Linked DNA regions of Homo sapiens: all the other regions are linked to region 1. Evidence: promoter capture Hi-C in 16 types of primary human blood cells and fetal thymus (Javierre and others, 2016). All regions are on one chromosome and are shown on one strand. Each heading gives the region's core, a stretch centred on a gene start or on the middle of the fragment in contact. The rest is flanking DNA. Distances are from core to core; before and after follow the strand shown.

Evidence for each region. Contacts are between HindIII fragments. The CHiCAGO score rates a contact against its expected background, and 5 or more counts as called.
Region 2: a contact is called between a fragment that was not itself captured here and the fragment with the promoter of SLC9A6 in region 1, in 5 of 17 cell types (naive CD4 T cells, M1 macrophages, M2 macrophages and 2 more). The highest score is 6.6, in naive CD4 T cells.
Region 3: a contact is called between a fragment that was not itself captured here and the fragment with the promoter of SLC9A6 in region 1, in 2 of 17 cell types (M2 macrophages and M1 macrophages). The highest score is 5.6, in M2 macrophages.
Region 4: a fragment that was not itself captured here is called in contact with the fragment with the promoter of SLC9A6 in region 1 in 1 of 17 cell types (M2 macrophages); the score reaches 5.7 in M2 macrophages.

Annotation. Positions count from the first base shown.
Region 1 is chrX:135,983,200-135,988,611 of GRCh38, reverse strand. SLC9A6 (solute carrier family 9 member A6) reads right to left here and starts at 3,177. Exons shown (of 18, transcript NM_001379110.1): 1 at 3,135-3,177; 2 at 2,785-3,009. The coding sequence starts at 2,953. RefSeq lists an enhancer at 2,777-2,896 and a silencer at 3,047-3,286. The HindIII fragment of the contact is 4,728 bases long and covers 1,639-5,412 here.
Region 2 is chrX:136,206,796-136,209,897 of GRCh38, reverse strand. It overlaps FHL1 (four and a half LIM domains 1), which reads right to left. Exons shown (of 6, transcript NM_001159699.2): 3 at 2,708-2,882; 4 at 1,937-2,106; 5 at 1,257-1,443; 6 at 1-27. Among named protein-coding and RNA genes, the nearest start is that of FHL1, 11 kb to the right of the region's middle. The HindIII fragment of the contact is 1,541 bases long and covers 480-2,020 here.
Region 3 is chrX:136,185,456-136,190,867 of GRCh38, reverse strand. It overlaps a transcript of FHL1 not described here. Among named protein-coding and RNA genes, the nearest start is that of FHL1, 8.9 kb to the left of the region's middle. The HindIII fragment of the contact is 6,722 bases long and covers 1-5,412 here.
Region 4 is chrX:136,167,277-136,172,688 of GRCh38, reverse strand. It overlaps a transcript of FHL1 not described here. Among named protein-coding and RNA genes, the nearest start is that of FHL1, 27 kb to the left of the region's middle. The HindIII fragment of the contact is 4,417 bases long and covers 1,547-5,412 here.

The DNA of each region.
Region 1 (5,412 bases), core at 1,928-4,427:
AAAAAAGGAAAAAGAAAACTTCAATTTTCATGCTATTGAAAATACTTTGACCCTCCACAAAAAAAGAAAGAAAGAAAGAGAGAGAAAGAAAGAGAGAGAAAGAAAGAAAGAAAAGAAAGAAAGAAAGAAAGAAAGAAAAGAAAGAAAGAAAGAAAAGAGAGAGAAAGAAAGAAAGAAAGAAAAGAAAGAGAGAGAAAGAAAGAAACTTTGACCCAATCCCATCTATTCTCGAACTGGACTTGCGAGTTAAGTTAGGAGGCTGTTTGGTCCACAGCACCCATTGCCCACAATGAGAAAATAGGACAGGCTAAAGAACGCCAAGTCAACTCCAGATTTGACTCCCAGACTAACACTCTTGCACTTTACATTCCACAAGAGATACCCTTGTTTTTCCTTCAAAAAATACTAACACCAAGGTGCTCTATCACTTTTTATTAACTTAGAAACCTCACAAAATGCAATCGGTAATCCTTTTCTACTTCAGTCCTAGAGTTAGATGAGGTTAATGATACCAGCTACCAAAGAGAAAATATTTCCAGGGCAATTCAAAGCCCCTATTTGATTCTCTTAAAAAGACTGTATTTGTCCCTTGACTTATGAGACTGACCAATTAAAAGAGTTGTTCTGGGCCTAATCTGAGAAAATGCAGTTGTAACAGCAATAATAATAATAATAGCACAGCTATCATTTCTTGGGCATTTACTTAAGGGTCAGTTACTAGTCTAAAAACATTTCTTCCTCACAGTAATCCTACTATCATCATCCCTAACATATAGATGATGGTAAAAGAGAGTAAGGGACTTGTCTAAGATCACACATACCTATGGGCAGAGTGTGACGGGAATCTAGGTCTGATTCTAAAGCAGGGGTTGGCAAACTACAGCCCTTGGTCTGTTTTTGTATGGCCCGAGAGCTAAGAATAGTTTTTATGTTGTAAAACTTTATAAAAAGAAAAAAAAATCAAAGAAAAAAAATGCAACAGCGACAGAGATCTACGTATCCACAAGATCAACAATCATTACTACCTGGCCCTTTACAGAAAAAAAAAAAAATTGCTGACCTCTGGTCTAAAGCCTTGTACCTTTAATTACCACATCATACTATCTCTCTCTATAAAAGAAGTATCTCTGATCAGTTCATTACTTTATAATACTCATTTGGCATTTAACCAAATTTAAGATGCCATTATTTTCTTTATATGACCTGCCTATAAGTGACTTGAAGGCAAAGATCTTATACCTCTTTGTATTTTCTGAGCATAATACATAGAAGGTTTATCAACAAATGTTTGTTGAGGATAGTAAATAAATCACACACTGTTATGCAGAAAATTATATAGAAATATATAGCTTATCTGGCCAATTTGGCTTAAGGTGCACTGCAAATGAAATGCAAAACATATTAAATATAAAAACCATCTAATATGTCTAAAAACTAGGAATCTTAGTGAGCAGAGATATTTTACACGCAGGCTCAGAACTGTATTCTCTTAAAAATGAAAAATAAGCCTGAGTTCATGCATCTTCCTGAGGCACACAACTACCTTTCCTTGCTATCCTTGAGAGATGCACATTACAGAAGTCTGGATTTACTAGGGGGCGGGGGTTTGCATGGAGCAATGTCTTTTGTGCCAAAGCTTCATCTACCTATCTGCAAGTCTGAGAGACAAACCTCAACAAGCTCATCGGTTTAACTGCTCCAAATGAAGATAATCTTCACACATGTACTGCACAGAAAGAATTGTTTGTCCGCCCTCATCTCTTTAGCAATACCCGCACAGATTAATACAGTCGGCAATATGTATCTTTTCTCCTCTTGAGGCCCCAGCACAGCTCAAAATGCCTCTGAGCCCACACTTTGATTTACCCCTTCTCGCCTTGTCACCAAAATAATAATAATAATAATAATAATAAACCTCAGAAAGCAGACTGAGACACAAGAATCGAAGCCATTTATTCTACAATCGGTCAATAACCTCATGCCAACAGCAAGTCACCCATACTGCATATGCATGGTGTTTGTAATTACTGTTTGTCTGAACTGTCCTGATCATCGTATAGTACACTATACTTCTGGAAGGACCTTAACTCTTCCTCGTCCTCACTTTTGTATGCCTGAATTGGAAGGGTCAACCACAGGTATCCATATCAGATATTAGAGGCATAGTACAATAAATGGGATGTCATTAAAAATGCCCTAAGCCTTCTGTAGCCTATTTCACGTTCGGGTTTTTTTTTTCGGACTCCACAAGAATAAGATTTTCCTTTGCAACCTCGAAAGGACAGGGCGTAGCAGGAGCTAGGTGTTGAGTAAAGGTCGACTCTGGCTCCAAAAGAACGCCAGATTCTGGGCAGTAGAGATACTACTGCAGTTTCAATGAACCTTAAACAAACTGACACCCCAGAGAAATGGATCGCAATGGTGTCTCCCCTCCCCCAGCCCCCAGCCCAATTCCAGACACCGCGCCCACTCGTTTTCCATCCTCAGCCCCGGGTCCCGAGCTTGGTAGGCAGGGAAAGGGTGGGGGGCTGGGGGTGCGGAGGAAAAAGGGGGTGGGGTCGGAAGCGAAAAAGGTGTGGAGAGGCAGATAAAATGGGGCGCGAGGCTGAAGAGGAAAGGGGGTGAGGCAGAGAAACGCGGGGTAGGGGGAAGGCGAGGCAGAAAATGGAAGGAATTAGAAGGGGAGCCGAACGTAGGCCGAGCAGGGCCAGCAGAGGAGGCGAAGCAGCCGGCGGGCAGAGAAAGGGGCAGCGCCAAGGGGCTGACAAGGGTTGAGGAACTTGCCATAAATCATAGCCAGGCCGGTTTCGTGCAGGAAGCGGGCCCGGCGGTGCTTGAAGAGCCAGATTGTGAGAATGGTGAGGGTGAGCAGCAGGATGAAGATGAGCAGGTTGGCGCTGTCCTGCCGGTGGCTCTCCTCGGCTTGCTTCTCGGACACGATCTCCTCGTCCATGGCTCTAGCCTCTCCGCCGCCGCCGTCCGAAGCCCCTGCCCAGTCAAAGACGCCCACTGCGAGGAGCAACCAAAGGGGCCGCATGAGCCTGCGGGCTCGGGGACTGCTGCCGACGCCACGGCGGAGGGGTGCCCGCCGCCAGCCGCGCCGAGCCATGTCTCCCCCCGCCTCCCGCCCCTACCTCACCGGCGGCCGCCCGCGGTCGGACCACTCCCCGAGGGCTCACGGGAAAGGGGCGGGGCCCGGGGGTAGCCGTCGGAGCGCGCGCCGCCGCCGCCGCTCTTAAAGGGGCCGCGGCATCCCAAGCTCGCTCTGCCAGGTTCCTTTGCCCCTCTGTCCCAGGTCACACGCACCCACAGGCGCTGCCGGGAATGAAAGGCCGTCTAAACTAGCCCACTGCCTTTGGCTAAAGAAACATCGGCTCAGTGTAACCAAGCAGAGGCAGACTGCGCTTTCTACTTTGATCCTATTCTCAGAGCTCTCAGGGGAATTGATCTTTCATAGGAATTGATCTTTCATAACCCATCTCAATATCGTCCCCCAGTGTCTCTTAACAGGATAAGTTGTCCCCTTGGGAGGAGCCTCAATCTCCATCTCTGTAATTTAAATTTAAATCGGATTCTCCTTGTATTGTCCTCATCGGGAAAGAAAAAAAAAAAAACACAAAAAAACACCACACACACACAGAGCACTGTAGCAGTTCATAAAACAATCGACTCAAAGGTATGGATTATGTGTGTGTCTGTGTAGTCGGTTTTCTTTACATGTAAACATCTGATATAAGTCATCTCTCACGCTAGGAATCTGTACACAGAAACTCATCAACCTTACAGCAAAGATTGGATCGGTTTGTGCTTAGATTTCCCAATGCTCGTAAACACTTCCCTCCCGAAGAAAAAATCTTGGGTGGTGTGGTGGATTTCTCCTTCTCCTCTTGCTCCTTTTTACTGCTGTTTTAAAGCAAATGTCCCCAGCTCCGAAGTCACCCTTGACCCCTATCTCTCATCTCTCCTCTTTAGTATTCCTCAGGACAGTATTTTTTTTCTGTTCTCAGCCTGTCCAACCTCTCTCACCAGAATTTTCACAGTTCTCACCTCCATACTGGAGCTTTGTCTTTTGAGAACAGTGACTTCCTATTTTTTCTGTATTTCTCCGATCGCTCCTTAGTTTGTGTGGGCTCTTTGTTTTCTCAAGACTTTGATTTCAACATGAATGATCTACAAGTCTCAAGCCCTGGCCTGCTGCCCCAACTTCAGGCCTCTACCTGTTGGATTCTGAGCATACCCTGTTGAGGCTCCTACCACCCTCAAAACTAAAAATATTTTGAAATGAGCTCATTTGAAATGAGTTCCCCCTGCAAGTACAAATTCCTTCTCAAATTCTTCATACCATCAGTGGTACCACTGTCAGTTCAATTCCTATCATTCTGCCTGGAACTCATGATTCTCAAATGGTTCTTTCCATCTCATGGCCATATAACCTCCTTGCTAAAACAAGTAATACTCAGGCAACTCCAAGCTGCCCCTGTGTGTATTCACCCTCACTAACCAGCTCTCTAAGCTCTCAGGATGATGAGCTAAACAAAAAAAGCACTCAAACGATGTCCAATTCCACTTTCTGTCCCTGTCAGGTCAGGAACTGTCCCAAATCAGAGCCAGTGACTGTGTGCCCATTCTCTGCTATTAGTACTTGGGTCTGTGTCTTCCCAAGAAACCTCATGGCTGCCTGTTCCCCTATACCCTGACTCCACTTGAACCACACTGTCCTGTTCACACAGAGCTGGGCTTTGTGGAAGCAAGAAACCTAGGTGAGGATCCTTCCCATTCTCCCCATCATCCTCTCCCCAGAAGACCTAGTAAATGAGCTTACCTGCTAACTGCTCATTCCAAGGCTGTTTTGTCCCAGCATAAACCCACTTTTCACTGAGTGTTGGGAACTTGAAAAAAAAAAAAAAAAACCCGAAGCCACAGATTGCTTCCCTGACCAGAGTCAGGAAATGTCTTCAAGCACCAGACTCCACCTCTGTTTATGTGGCCCCAGCAACTTAGTATGCCCCTCAGCAATCTCTTTGTACTCGAGTTCTAGGAGGAATCTTGAAATGGTAGTAACTTCTACCAGGCAGCCAATCCCCCTGAGGCTTCTGCTCCCCCGAGAATGTACTTCTCTCTCCATCCAGCACTGCTCTATACTTCTGACGCCTACACCCGGGTTTCTCCTCTTGCTACTTCCCTCCCTTTCCATGTTAGTCGGTGTGCTCCTTGGAACGTTCTTCCTTGTAAACATACTACTCAACCCTCTCAGTCACTGCATGGATGGCCCCTCCATCTCCTCTCATTACCAGAACCCATGTCTCTCCCAGGATATCACACGCTCTGACGCTATTGCAAGTGGAGGTTGTTCATGTTCATTTGGTCACAGCCCCACTGTCCTGCACACATATACACACGTATACACAACTC
Region 2 (3,102 bases), core at 1-2,500, 220 kb before region 1:
CCACCACACTGGAGCCTTTACCAAACCCTGGGGGGAAAAAAAAAGAAAAGAAAAGAAAACAAGAGAAACAGCTGAATGAATACAGGTGAGGAAACCACGATTCAGAGAGATAAAATGACGACCTGCCCCACTCACAGACCGACAAGCACGCAAGAGCCAGGTCTGCCTGGCTCCCAGACCCCCTCCTCCACTCCATCGTGCACAGTCCCCCACGCCGCCATTGTCCCCCATGCCGCCGCAACCCTGCTGTGGCTCTCAAGGACCTGAGAAGATGCTGAAGCCCGGCCAAGGGCTTCCCTGATGTAAAGACCCCACGTTCCCATGCCACCACGCTATTGCCCTGTGACGCGCACCGACCTCCCAGCATAACCAGTTTCTTTGATTTAGGTCAGGGCCATGACATCAAAGTGGCCACCAGGAGGCAAACTTGGGCTGTTCGTGGGGTGTGCACTTACCGGGCCTCGAGGAGCTGCTAAGCTTCGATTTTTTCTATAAAGAACCACCACCCACGAGGGACAAGTCCTCTCTCCACCCGGATGCCTGCCCCGGAGGTTGGCGCTGGGAAACAGGGTGAGAGGCAAGCGTTTCCCGTGGCACACTGGGGGCTTCCTAGCTTTAGAGACTGGGTGGCTCACTCTTGACACAGTCCTTTTCCCTGAGGATGGCAAAAGTCTTCTCAAATGTACATTTCAAGGCTCCCCGGGAAGATGGGAAAATTGGAGGCAAGGGAAAGGGCCCAGGGCACGTGGATCGCGGCCGCGAGATGAGGAATGAAGTGATTAGCTTTGCTGATCGCAAAAACAAATAAACAGCAAACCAAAAAAAAAAGAAACCCTGCCAACAGGCATCTCTGAACTAGCCTTCAGCTATGGGGTATTACAATCCCGGGTTATCACTCTTCGGCCTCCCTTACCCCTTCCCCACCCTCCCCCACCCCCTTCTTTCTACCCTCCTCCCACCCCTCCCCCCAGAATCCCCCTGCAAAGTGGCAGTGCCTGCCGGTGTTGGCTGGCAGGTCTCAGGCTTGTGAACTCTCAGCATTGTTAGTCAACAGTCAGGAAGTGTTCTGTATTGCAAAGGCTAACCTGGCCTGGGGACGAATCCAAACTCTTGGGGGGCCTTTGGGACCACAATAGCAGGGGGAGAAGGGCATTCTCTGGGGGCCTTTGTGGATGAAACCGACGACAGGAAAATGAGAGATGGTTACCATGCGCAAAACCTAGCCTGGCAGACTTAGCAAGGACTCTTTAGCCTACCAGTGATGGGGTTCTTGCATCCAGCACACTTCTTGGCCACAAAGTTCTTGTAGCAATCCACGCAGTAATACTGGTCCTCCACAGCGGTGAAACGCTGCCCAGCCAGCTTCTTAGAGCAGGTAACACACACAAAGCAATCGGCATGCCAGGGCTGATCCTGGTAAGTGATTCCTCCAGATGTGATGGCCTAGACCAGGGAGTGTAGCACCGGATTCAGATTCAACAACCATTTTGTTGAATGCCTACTGCGTGCCAGGCACTGTGCTGGGCGCTTTGGTATACAATATCTCATTTAATCTCCACAACAGCCATGGGAGGCAGGGGCTATTATTATCCCCACTTTACAGATGAAGACACCAAGGCTCGGAGAAGGTGAGCCCCTATGTGAGGTTACACAGCCCCTAAGTGGTGGAGGCAGGCTTCTAGAGCCAGGGCTGCCCAGCTCAGCATGCCATACGGGCCACCCGCACCACCAGGCTGAGGATGCGTACTGACAGCCTGACTTGGCTGTGGCACTGCTTCCTAATCCACGATCTCCTCATCTGTAAAACGGGAATAATAATTCCTACGTCACAGGGCTGTCGTGAGGATGGAATGGGATAGTGTGTGTGGAAGTGCTCTGCAAACTGTCAAACACTTCTAGAAACAACGGTCAATGCAGAACTCCCTTGAAAGCATACCTTGTTGCACTTCACGCAATGCTTGGCAAACTTGGTCTCATGGCAAGTCACGCAGTAGAAGTCCTCCCCTTTAGGGAAGAAGCTTCCAGTCCCGATGACTTGCTTGCAGTTACTACAGGTGAAGCAGTCTTTGTGCCAGACGGTCCCCTTGTACTCCACGTTTTGATCTCCTGCAGAGGGAAGCAATTGGATAGCCCCACTGACAGGCTCTGCAGGGGGCTGCATCCACTCAGCTCCCCTCCCCAGGCCCTCCAGAGGTGAGGGGATGCAGGCCCTGCAGTTACTGGCCTCACACCTCCAACTAACCTACCTGTGTTCTACTTGTGCTTGTGCCAACCCAGGATTTCTGTCATGGGTGGGGACCCCAGCATTATTATTTTAGGATCCAGTGCCTGAATCCCCCACTCCCCCACCTCTATACCCTGCGTGCACTTAGACATTAAATCAGGGACTGCCTGGCCCAGAATGACACCCTGAGGAAGAAGCATGCTTTCATCACTTACTACGCCCAAATGAGAAAGCGCTACATACTGTTCACTTCATTCTGTTGCCACAGGCTGTTCTCGCCAGTGTTCTTTAGTCTCCGAGTGTGTGCGTGTGTGCGAGCATATATGTGTACGCATATATACGTGTATGTATATGTGTACATATATATGCTAAGATCTCAAAGCAGCTCAGAGCAACGTTAGCCCCACCATGATAAGCAAGCCCACATCACGTCTGCCCTCAGGGCCTCCTCCCTGGGAACCCGGGGTGGGAAGGAGGCAGTACCTGCCACAATGGCCTTGAAGCACCCCTTGCACTTGGGGGAGTCCTCCCGAGTGGTGCACTTGTTGCACAGGATCTTGTTGTCCTTGGCCACAAAGGTCTCATTGGCCAAGGGGTGAAGGCACTTGGCACAGCGGAAGCAGGTGTCATGCCAGAAGCGGTTCTTATAGTGCACCTCCTGGAAACCAAGCAGACAGGGTGGGCCACCATGAGGGGTGCTGGGGGTGGTGGCAGGAGCCCTCCCATAAGGCTGATTTCCCTGGGACTGACCACTGAGATGACACAGTCCCTTACACCTGGGACTGCCCCACAGTGACTATTCTTATAGGAGGGACGCTGAGGTGAGGATAAAAATCTCACAATTCTTGAAATATTTAGAATGCAATCAAAAGAGCTGG
Region 3 (5,412 bases), core at 1,191-3,690, 200 kb before region 1:
GCTGAGGCCCAGAGATGGAGAGATCACCTGCTTCCCTGAGTTAACAGCTGCTCCAGGTCTAGAAGCTGAGTGTCTGGACTCCGAAGGCACTATTCCTTGTACCGTATTAGCAAGGGATCTTTACTCATGACAATGTAAACCTTAGGAATGCTATGTATGGTAAAGGGGGTTTGTTATCCCTTGACTTTATATTCATCAACAGAGGTTAAGCTGGGTCACAGACCCTGAGACTAAGGGACAGTTGTGTGTGTAGATGACACATTTTGCAGATTCTCTCATGCAGCAGCAAGAGTCCAGTCAAGTTATCTCAGCCACAGTTAATGGTTAATGCTGGAGTCTCTTAGCCTACTCTGGTTCGAGAGGCCGCCTGATTCGCGAATCGTTCTTTGCTCAATTAAACCCTATTAAACTTAAAAAGAAAAACAAAGTTTATGGATAAACTTTGGCTAACTTGGAAGCAGTAGTTGACGCAGAGCTGAGAGAGATATGGACTAGGTTGGATGCGGAAGCAGAGGCTCTACCTAAACAGCTGACACTTAAGGAACAAGAGTGAGTGATTTCAAAGCCCTTGAAGTCAAACAACAAGTTCACCATGCCAGGCAGCAAGTACATGAAACAGAATGACAGGAACACGAAGTCCAGAAAGGAGAACGCAAGGAGAGTCTGCAGCTAGAGGAGCAGAAGCCATCAAAGGACATGTACGTGGAAAGATCACACCCCATTCACCTCACATCCCCACCCTTCTTGCTCATTTCCAATGATAATCAACAAGAACAAACATGGGAAGTAGGTACCTAACTGGTATAAATAAGACCAGATTATCTAAGGTACAGAGAGTGAAACAAGGAGTGATTGTCCTATTGCATTCAATGAAATTCAGGTAAAACGGTTTAGACTGGACCATAACTATTTTTGAAGGCTTCCATGAAAGAAATTTAAGGCTTAACTTTATATGAGATTGGTTGAACAATTAACATGGTTAGTTCCAAGACAAATAGTAGGAAATTTGCCCTGAGATTAGTATATCTATTTTATAATGATTCAAGAGAATATAGTGCAGTGGCTAAGAGCACAGACTGAAGCCAGAATATCTAAATTCGAATCCTGCCTCTATCACTTACTGGTTGTATGACATTGGCAAGTTTCACTTAACTTCTCTGTGACTAAATTTGCCCATCTGTAAAATGGGGATGATAATAGTACCTATGTAAAAGGGTCATTGTGAGAAATACAGCAGTAAATATTTGCAACATTTAGAGCAGTGGCTGGCACACAGTAAGCACTATATATTATTAATTCAACTACACGCTAAAAATGTGGCCGACCCAAGCAGCAGATTCCTACAAATAGAATTTATCAAGTTTACTAATTCACAGGGAATATGTGGAAAAGAGATAAGGGCTCAGGATGTTGGCCAAGAGCCCAGCTGCAAGGACCATGGGCCTGAGAATGACTGGGGCAGCAGAGAGCAAAACTCAAAGTCCTAGGGACTCAGAGGAATTGGCCTCAGCAGCTTGACAGCCCAGTGGAGACAGCTGTGGACTCAACATGGGTCAGGAGGGTTTATGAACAGATGATGGAGACCTGGGGAGAACAAATCTCTGCTCTATTGATCCTCTAATGAAATAAATACCCAATAGGTCTAGGTCACCTGTCCAGTCTTGAGCTGCAGAGGGTCTTCCCTACATCCTCCCTGCCAGGAAAGGGCCCAGTGGCTAATTAGACCTTTTCTGGCTAGAGTCAATAAACTTTCCAACACAACAAATAAGGGTTTACCTTATAAGCACTAATTCATCAGGCAGGCCACCCTTGATTCACATCTCTGAGCTTAAGTTGGCTATAAAGGCCAACAATGAAAAGAGGCTACCTATATGCAGCTCCAGCCAGAATGCAGATTAGCATCATATTATGTGAGTTAATTCTGAATAAATGCCAAGGACATGGATCTAAAAGACCCTATCTCATCAAGCCACTTACAGAAATGACTCTACAGCTCAGGAGATGAGGCTGTTTGTGCCGAGACATAGCTTGGGTGAGTACAGCAATGCCCAAGGTCCCAGGGGTGGCAGAACCAAAATATGCACCATCTACCCGACTCTTGACCAAAAACACGTTGTGGTCAATCCCCCATACCCACCCCAAGATGAACTCCGGCTAAAGCATCTAGAGTTGGGATGACTGTAAGAAGACTATTATCTGACCATTGTGTAGACAGACCATTGCCGTATGTCCATAATGACCCAGCACCTCACATCCCCACCCAAAAGAAACCCCGGACCTCTTAGCTGTCACTCTCCATGCATGAGCAGTTAGTGACTAGGATCAGAGAGGCTATATTTTCAGGTCCACAGATCTCATCCCAGAACCCCAAAGTTAATCTCCTCCTATCATAATAGGCTCCCTAAACCCTGTGCCTCAGCTCACTGCAGGAGAACACAAGGAAGGGAACAGGGGCATATCAGCCTAAGGAGGCAGGGACAGCTCTGGGATGAGCTGTGAGGAGAGAAAGGGCACACTGGTCCAAAAGATTCTCTGAGGCTCCGTACCTCCTCTCCTACTGGCACAGCCTGGGCAAGGCCTGCAGCTACAACATCTCAATTCCAGATAATCACACATTCTTTCTTTAGTTATTTTACCCAAAATTTTATCAATCAGGGCTTCATTTGGGTTAACAATCTTCACTTATAAAATGAAATAATTCCAGGTGAGTGTGAGTGAAGGTAGCTAAAGAACATGAAGTCCTTTGTCATTATAGAGATAATATGTAAAATATTTTAGAATAAAAACATTTCTTAGGTGAAAACTTTTGTTTTATATGTTCACAGTGATTCTTTAAGTTTCCATGTTCATGACTTCAAGTTGTTTTGCTATGTTATTTTATTTATTGAGATATAATTTACATGCCTGTGCTTTGGGAGGCCAAGGCAGAAGGATTGCTTGAAGCCAGGAGTTCAAGACTAGCCTGGGCAACATAGTGAGATCCCCATCTCTAAGTAAAATTTAAAATAATTTATATATCATAAAATTCACCTTTATAAAGTGTACAATTCAGCAGCTTTTAGTATATTCATAATGTATATCAATCATTACCACCATCTGATTCTGCATTTTCATCACCCCCAAAGAAATCCTGGACCTCTTAGCCATCACTCTGCATACCCCACCCCCACCCCGTGGGAACCACTAACCTACTTTCTGTCTTTATGGATGTGCCACTTCTGGCAATGGAATCATACAATATATGGCCTTCTGTGGCTGATTTCTTTCACTTAGCATAATGCTTTCATAAAAATGGAATCACACAATATGCAGCTTTTTGTGGCAGATTTCTTTCCCTTAGTATAATGTTTTCGAGGTTCATTCATGCTATAGCATGCATCAGTACTTCAGTTCTCTTTATGGCTGAATAATAGTCCATTGTACAGATACACCACATATTGTTCAACCATTCATCAGGTAATGGACATTTGGGTTATTTCCACTTTTTAGCCACTATAATACTGCTGTGAACATTCTTTTTTTTGCATGGGTTTATTTCCAAAGATGTATTTTTGAAGAAGTATGAAAGAATACATAGTGAAAAGTATTCTTCCCCCTATCTATCCCCAGACATCTACTTCCCCCTCTCCACTGATAACCAATGATACCAGTGTCTTCTTTATGCTTCTGGAGATACTGGGCTTATAAAAGATAGGCAGCTATATATTTTTTCTTTTTCCTCTTTTAAAAAAAAAAACATAAATAGTGGTATACTATACATACTCCTCTGCACCTTGCTTTTTCTATTAATTCTATTGCTAGTTCTATTTATTTATATTCAGAGAATTTTCCTTGTCAGTACGTAAAGAGCTTCTACTTTTTGAACATGTACATAGTATCCAATTGTAAAGCTATACCACAGTTAGTCTCTTATTGACAAATATTTGTTATCACAATGCTGTAAGAAATCTATCTATCTATCTATCTATCTATCTATCTATCTATCTATATATATATATATATTTTTTTTTTTTTGAGATGGAGTCTCGCTCTGTCGCCCAGGCTGGAGTGCAATGGTGCGATCTCGGCTCACTGCAACCTCTGCCTCCCGGGCTCAAGCGATTCTCCTGCCTCAGCCTCCTGAGTAGCTGGAACTAAAGGTGCGTGCCACCATGCCCAGCTAATTTTTGTACTTTTAGTAGAGAAAAGAGTTTCACCATGTTGGCCAGGCTGCTCTCGAACTCCTGACCCACCCACCTCGGTCTCCCAAAGTGCTGGGTAGTACAGATGTGAGCCACTGCACCCAGCCTTGAAATATATACATTTTTTAAAGATAGGATGAACCAACTAAAAACAGTAGTAAGTTAGTTTAATCAGACTGCTTTCTTCTAACCCCCAAAAGAGATCAGCAGCACTAAAGGAATGGGAGTTTTGATTTACAAGGAAAGGGAGGGAATAAAAGGAAAGAGATGAAAAGATCTGGAGTGGATGAGGGAGCACCCACCAAAGTTTACTGAAATGGCACATTGTTTTTGTTCATGCAGAGAGGATGCCATCTGGAAATCCCATGCCAGCTATATGAAGGTTACCCTCAGCTAATCAGCCACCCAGAGAGGAAGTGGCTTTTGATTCCAAATCCATGCTCTTTGCACCAAAACCCACGATGCCTTGCCAATGAACTAAAAAACAGTAAACTCAGCAAAACGCCGATACTGACAATGCACACAACATATCCTCATGCAGTGCCACACCATGATGGATTAGTGGCAATGGAGATTATACTTCTCAAAATTAAAGAGGCAACTTAGTGTGCATCAAGTCTTCAGGCTGAAAAGTTATAAACTACATATAGTATTTGAGTTTCAAATGTTCATGCTGTCTTCCTTATCTATTTAAAAAAAATGAAAGGTGGCTTCTCAGCTGGGGATTATAATGGAGCAAGCCGAGCTGGGCACAAGCCCTTCTGGACGATTAGACTGGCAACATGTCACTGATGCATACCACCAGGGAAGTGCACAGCTCTGAGTCATAGGTCTGACCTTAAAACTGCATTCTGGGAAAACAAAACACCATCCACGTTCGTTATATAAATCTGTCATGGATTTTTCAACTCTGTCTGCATCAGAGTTTTAAATTAACCCTGTCATTGTTTTTTCCTAAAAGTAGAGGAGTAGCTTGATGTCTCTAGCCTCAAAGGTCAGTCTTTTCTGAAACGGGCACTTGTTTTCTTAAAGGTCACATAACTAATTGAAGCCAGGTGACCCATGTTCTATGACTATTTGTCACCAATTTCCTAACTTAGATTGCACCTCCCTGTCTTTACAGATAAACAAGAAAGAGAAACGTCACCAGCACCCCCACTCCATTATCAGTGAATATTTTAAAAAACTAACTTCGGACTTCAGAAAAGGGGCTGATGTTTATAAAGCAGCT
Region 4 (5,412 bases), core at 2,506-5,005, 180 kb before region 1:
TAAACTATTCAATTATTCCAAACAAACGTTTTAAAAATAGAGTGTGAAACGCACAGTTTACATTTATTTTCATTTTAGGGCCTTCGGGTCCCAGGGACAGCTGCATCCATGGCAATTACTGAATACTTTATTTGCACATGCTTATATGGAAGTGGCATAAATCATAGGCTCAAAGAATAGAGTAGAGATGGGGACTTGGAACTGTACCCCTGCATCCATACCTGTCTACTGAATACTGGGCAATGTAATTGAGAAAAGCAAAGCAATTTTCAGTTTCCTTGTCTGCAAAAGAGAAAATAATCTAGGCATGTCCCACCCTTGAAGAATATCAAACCCAAAAGGTATTTTTTTGTTGTTTTTGTGCTCACCACTACATTCCTGCCCTGGCCCATAGTAGGGCTGAATGAATGAATAAAAGAAAGGAAGAAAGAACACCAGATGCAGTTGTGTAATCCTATATATTTCTGTTACATGGAAACAGAATTTAACAGATTTGGCCGGGCGCAGTGGCTCACGCCTGTAATCCCAGCACTTTGGGAGGCCAAGGAGGGCGGATCGCTTGAGGCCAGGAGTTTGAGACCAGCCTAGCCAACATGATGAAACCCTGTCTCTACTAAAATTACAAAAATTAGCCAGGCATGTTGATGTAGAGACGCTTGTAATCCCAGGTATTTGGGAGGCTGAGGCAGGAGAATTGCTTGAACCTGGGAGACGGAGGTTGCACTGAGCCAGATCGCACCACTGCACTTGCACCACTGCACTCCAGCCTGAGCGACAAAGCAAGACTCCATAAAAAAAAATAAATCAATAAAAAATTTAAAAAAATAAAAAAAACAGAATTTAGCAGATTCTATTCAACTGACACACCTGAGAAACTCAGTGCTTTAAAAGAAAACCCAAGGATACCAAGTTTTGGTCAATGTAAAGATGTCACTGGGGTGTGCTTGGTATCATAAAACCACTTGAAATGTGTGCTTGAAAAACTTCGATTTAAATGTTCCACTTTAAGAACACAGCCCTTTTACACATGGTTTCTATCAAAGTTTTCTGCTGATGAAGCTGATTGAATTTGCAGATTGCTATGGAATTACTAAGGGCAAACAATGCATATGCATAGTCAGGTCTCACCTAGCTGGCATTTCCAGCTGATGAGAGGATGTCTTTGTATCTCCTTAAAGAATCTTTATATCTTTCTCTCTCCCTTCTTTATATCTCCTTAAAGAATCTAGCCTCTTCTGTGGGAAAATAAAAATAAGAGCTGGGAAAGGGCACAGAGCTAAAATCTCTGCTCTTTCAATAGGGTTCACCCTTAGAGGAGGGTGACAGAGAGTCACAGCCTCCTACTTGAGCCAAAGCAGTTCAGCTTTGGTTTTCTCTATTGGGGTTAGATCTAAAGATTTGTATTTTTTGAAGATAGGTTTCTATCATTTTTTTTAAGTTTGAAAACAACCATTATAGGTAAAGGCTATGAATGAGAGCTATGGCAGGATTTAGACCCAGAAATGAAGATTCCATCTCCAGCAGCAGAGGGAAGCTGCTGAAAGCTTGTATCACCGAGCTTGCTTCAAGCCCGAGGGCCTTGGAAGGACTTCCGACTACCACCATAATTGATGAAATGGATAAAATTCAGGTTTAGCATTTCTAAAAGTTTGTCCTATGCTTTTTACTCTTTAAGGTTTAATACATTTAGGTATTTGAAGATATATATTTTAAAACCTGGGGAGAATTCTGTAGCAAGTAGACATAACAAAGGCAATTCTTGTCACCTGCTGAGCATGTACCCTAACTGAAATCTAAGTACCTACACTGACCATGTGGCTGCATGCAGGGGTGGGCAGGGTGAAGGTGAAGGCAAAAACGCAGCAACCTTTTGAGGGATGAAATGGCAAAGCCTGACAGGTATGGTGCTGGCAAAGGTTACATTCCCTCTTGTGAGCGCACAGAGACCGGGGCACCAAAAAGGAGGGACCATTACTGTATCGTGCCTGGATGAGCCTTCTCTTAGATTCCTTCATTATTTTCAAAGGTCAATGTCCCTCTCTCAAAGAGAAAATTGAGGAACCCTGAGTCATCACAGAGTATAAACAAGCCACTGTGGCTAAATGAAGAGGACAGAGAACGCTTATCCAGTATAAGCATTCTTACACTGGCTTCCCACAGGTTGTTCTGAACTTGAGGGCAAATCAGAAGAAAATCTCCTGGACCCTATTAATGTCACCGAGCAGAAGCACTCTTTGGCCTTCTATCACCAGATTTTGCAATGCCAGTCCTGCACCTTGGCTCCTTCCACCCAGGGAGAAAGATTCCTAATAGCTGATCAGGTCAGCCTAACCTTCTCGTGGCTGGCAGCAGGAGTCTCCTCTGTCCCATCCCAGCATTTGCTCCATGCAGCTTTCCTGCTCCCTACTGTTCGTGCAACGACATGAGCAGATCTTTACTTTAAAGCAGACATTCAAATAGTTCTGTTGTGCCTGGCAAATTCCCTTTTCATATGCCCAAGTTGAAAGCAAATGAGATTTTCCCTTGAAAAGACATTGCCCCCGAGAGCTAATATTTAGGGTAAGCAGTGACATTGGTTGAGTCAATTAAAATGAACCTTCTGAAACCTCCTGGTACAAATAAAGCCCTTTGTACAATGCCGCCCCTAATACCACAACTTAGAAGGTTGGAGATCAGTGTAAGAATTTGTGGCAATTAGTAAAACTTACCTCACGCTGGATGTGTGGCAGATAGGATGTATTCGGCAAAGGCTGGATATGGTTGAAAACAACTTCCAAGGTGCCTAAGTTAGGGAAAAAAATGAGAATCAAGAGGCAAAGTTACCTTTTTAGAAGCAAAGTTCTGAATTCTAAAAAAATAAAGTCAACTTCCTATGAAATGGCTCATGGTAACACATTCTACTTTGTATTTACAACCCTTAGAGTTAAAGGAAAACTGCCAAGATGTTCTGCATACTTCTCCAAATGTCTGTTTATCATATAACATGAGCACTGGCAGTGGATCTGGCTCCCTCATTATCAAGCCGTATTAGCTCAAACACTCAGCATTGTTAGGGGAGTGAGCTCATGGCCTATTTCAGTTTTAAATTAACATTTGGCAATCACCCGGGTAATCAAAACAAATGACTCAGTCGTTTAGAATAGATTTATTAGTTGAGCCTTTTTTTTTCTCTCTCTCTCTTTTAACATCTTTAGAATATTTTGCCACAGGAGGGCTCTGATCCAGCCAGAATGTAGAGCACAAGTCACTAGAGGAATATTTAGAGGGGTTGCCATGGAGACGAGGTGCCCTGTGACCGCTGAAGTTATCTCCAATCAACAGCAGGATTAGGATGCAGACTAGCGGGCAGGCTCATCCCAGGACGAGGGTTCTGCAGCACTAGGAAACAGGTGTGCCTTGTGCCGTTCCCAACCCTGACACAAATATGGCCCGCTACGACATGCTGCCCTCCTCAAGCCCGTGCGACCTCCCCACAGGCCCATTCGCATCACTGCCTTCCTCCCCCAATCCCTCGACCTTTATTCAGAAAGGACTGGCTGGGGCAAAGGAGAAAGGGAGTGTGATCACTGTATTATCCTAAAAGTGTGAAATCCTAGAATTCACACCAAATGCCGCTTTTAGATCAACTATGAAAATGTACATGAGCGAATGAAATCTGAGGAAAAGACAGTGCCTTGGGCGGGGGACCCAGTCTGTTTTTTCACTACTCTGCCCCAACACCCAGGTCAGTGCCTGTAACACAGGAAGCTCTCAAGAAGTATAGATGGAAACAGGGCAAAAATAAACCAAGGATTACAACCAGGTGTGTAACCACCCCTCCCACCCTATGCTCAAACCATTTCCAGGCTGATCGTCACACAGGCAGTGGATATAAATGGAAAAACTGTTAATGTGCTGGTAAATAAACAGCTGAGACTGTTGGTTCACTAGGCTAATGAGTTCATCTCTTTAGAGATCCTGACGACGATTGTCAGGATCGTTGTCAGGAAGAAAAGGCTGAAGATAATGCTTCCCAACTCAAAATGGATGAATCTGCTGACTATAGGGACAGGGTTCTTGTTTGCCAGGCCAAAAGCCTGGAGGAAGACAAATTTTGTGCCCATGGTGAAGCGCTAACATTTGAAAGCAAATGTTTTAAAGTGACTTAATTCAAAGGAACATCTTCCAGTCTTCCTCCCACCTGTACTTAAGTAGAGACAGTATCTTCATATTCTATCATATGAATCTGGATTGTTTCATGTTAGGTTTTCTTTGTCCGGTAAAATGTTAAGTATCTTGGTGTCAGGAAGAAATATTTCTTATTTCATTTCTATCTCCTAGTATTTAGCATGGTATGTTTACACCAAAGGCTTTACTCCATCTCATCTCCCACCACCACACTCCACTCATATAGAACTCACTGCTTCTAGAAGATTCCACACCCTTTCGTGCAGCTACAGGAGGAATGCAGCAGGGCACAGCTCTTCACAGCAGGGGCACCAGAGTCAGACTGCCTGAGCTCAAATACCGGCTCCGCCTCATATTAGCTGTCCAGCCTCTATGAGCATCATAATGGCCACCTACCTCATAGAGGTAAGGACGTACGTCCATGTAAAGCATTTAGCAGGGCCTCCCCCACACAAGGTACCCATTGAATGTTAAATACATACTTACTACTATTATTACAGCAGGCAAAAAGTCAAACTGTTATCAAACGTGGATAATGATTTCACATGCCACCACAAACGCCTGATACCAAATATACCTCTCTTTCGATTCAATCCAACTGAAGCGTCAAACCTGAATCTGTCACACACTAGTCTTATCATATTTCATCTAATTCACCCTTCTGGAATTGATGTTTCCTAGAGATGGGTACAATTCATACCGATTCTACTTGACGGAATCCGGTTCTCTTTTTCAAGAACCGGAATCACTTCCTTCCTAAGATTCCCACCTTGCCAATAGCTTCCCTGCCATCTCTCTGTCTGTTCCTCACCTCTGCACATTCCAGCTTGGAAGGGCTACAGGTGGGGAAAGGACAGGGAAAGTGTCTTCTAGTAACCAGACTGGGACTCTGGCTATTCTTTCCAGAAAACATTTTCATATTCTATCATATGAATCTGGACTGGTTCATGTTAGGTTTTGTTAGTCCTGTAAGATGTTAAATATCTTGGTGGCAGGGGCAAAGAAATGTCTTATTTTGGCTGGGTGTGGTGGCTGGCACCTGTAATCCCAGCACTTTGGGAGGCTGCGGTGGGTGGATCACGAGGTCATGAGATCAAGACCATCCTGGCCAACATGATGAAACCCCGTCTCTACCAAAAAAATACAAAAATTAGCCGGCGTGGTGGCGTGTGTCTGTAGTCCCAGGTACTCAGGAGGCTGAGGCAGGAGAATTGCTTGAACCTGGAAGGTGGAGGTTGCGGTGAT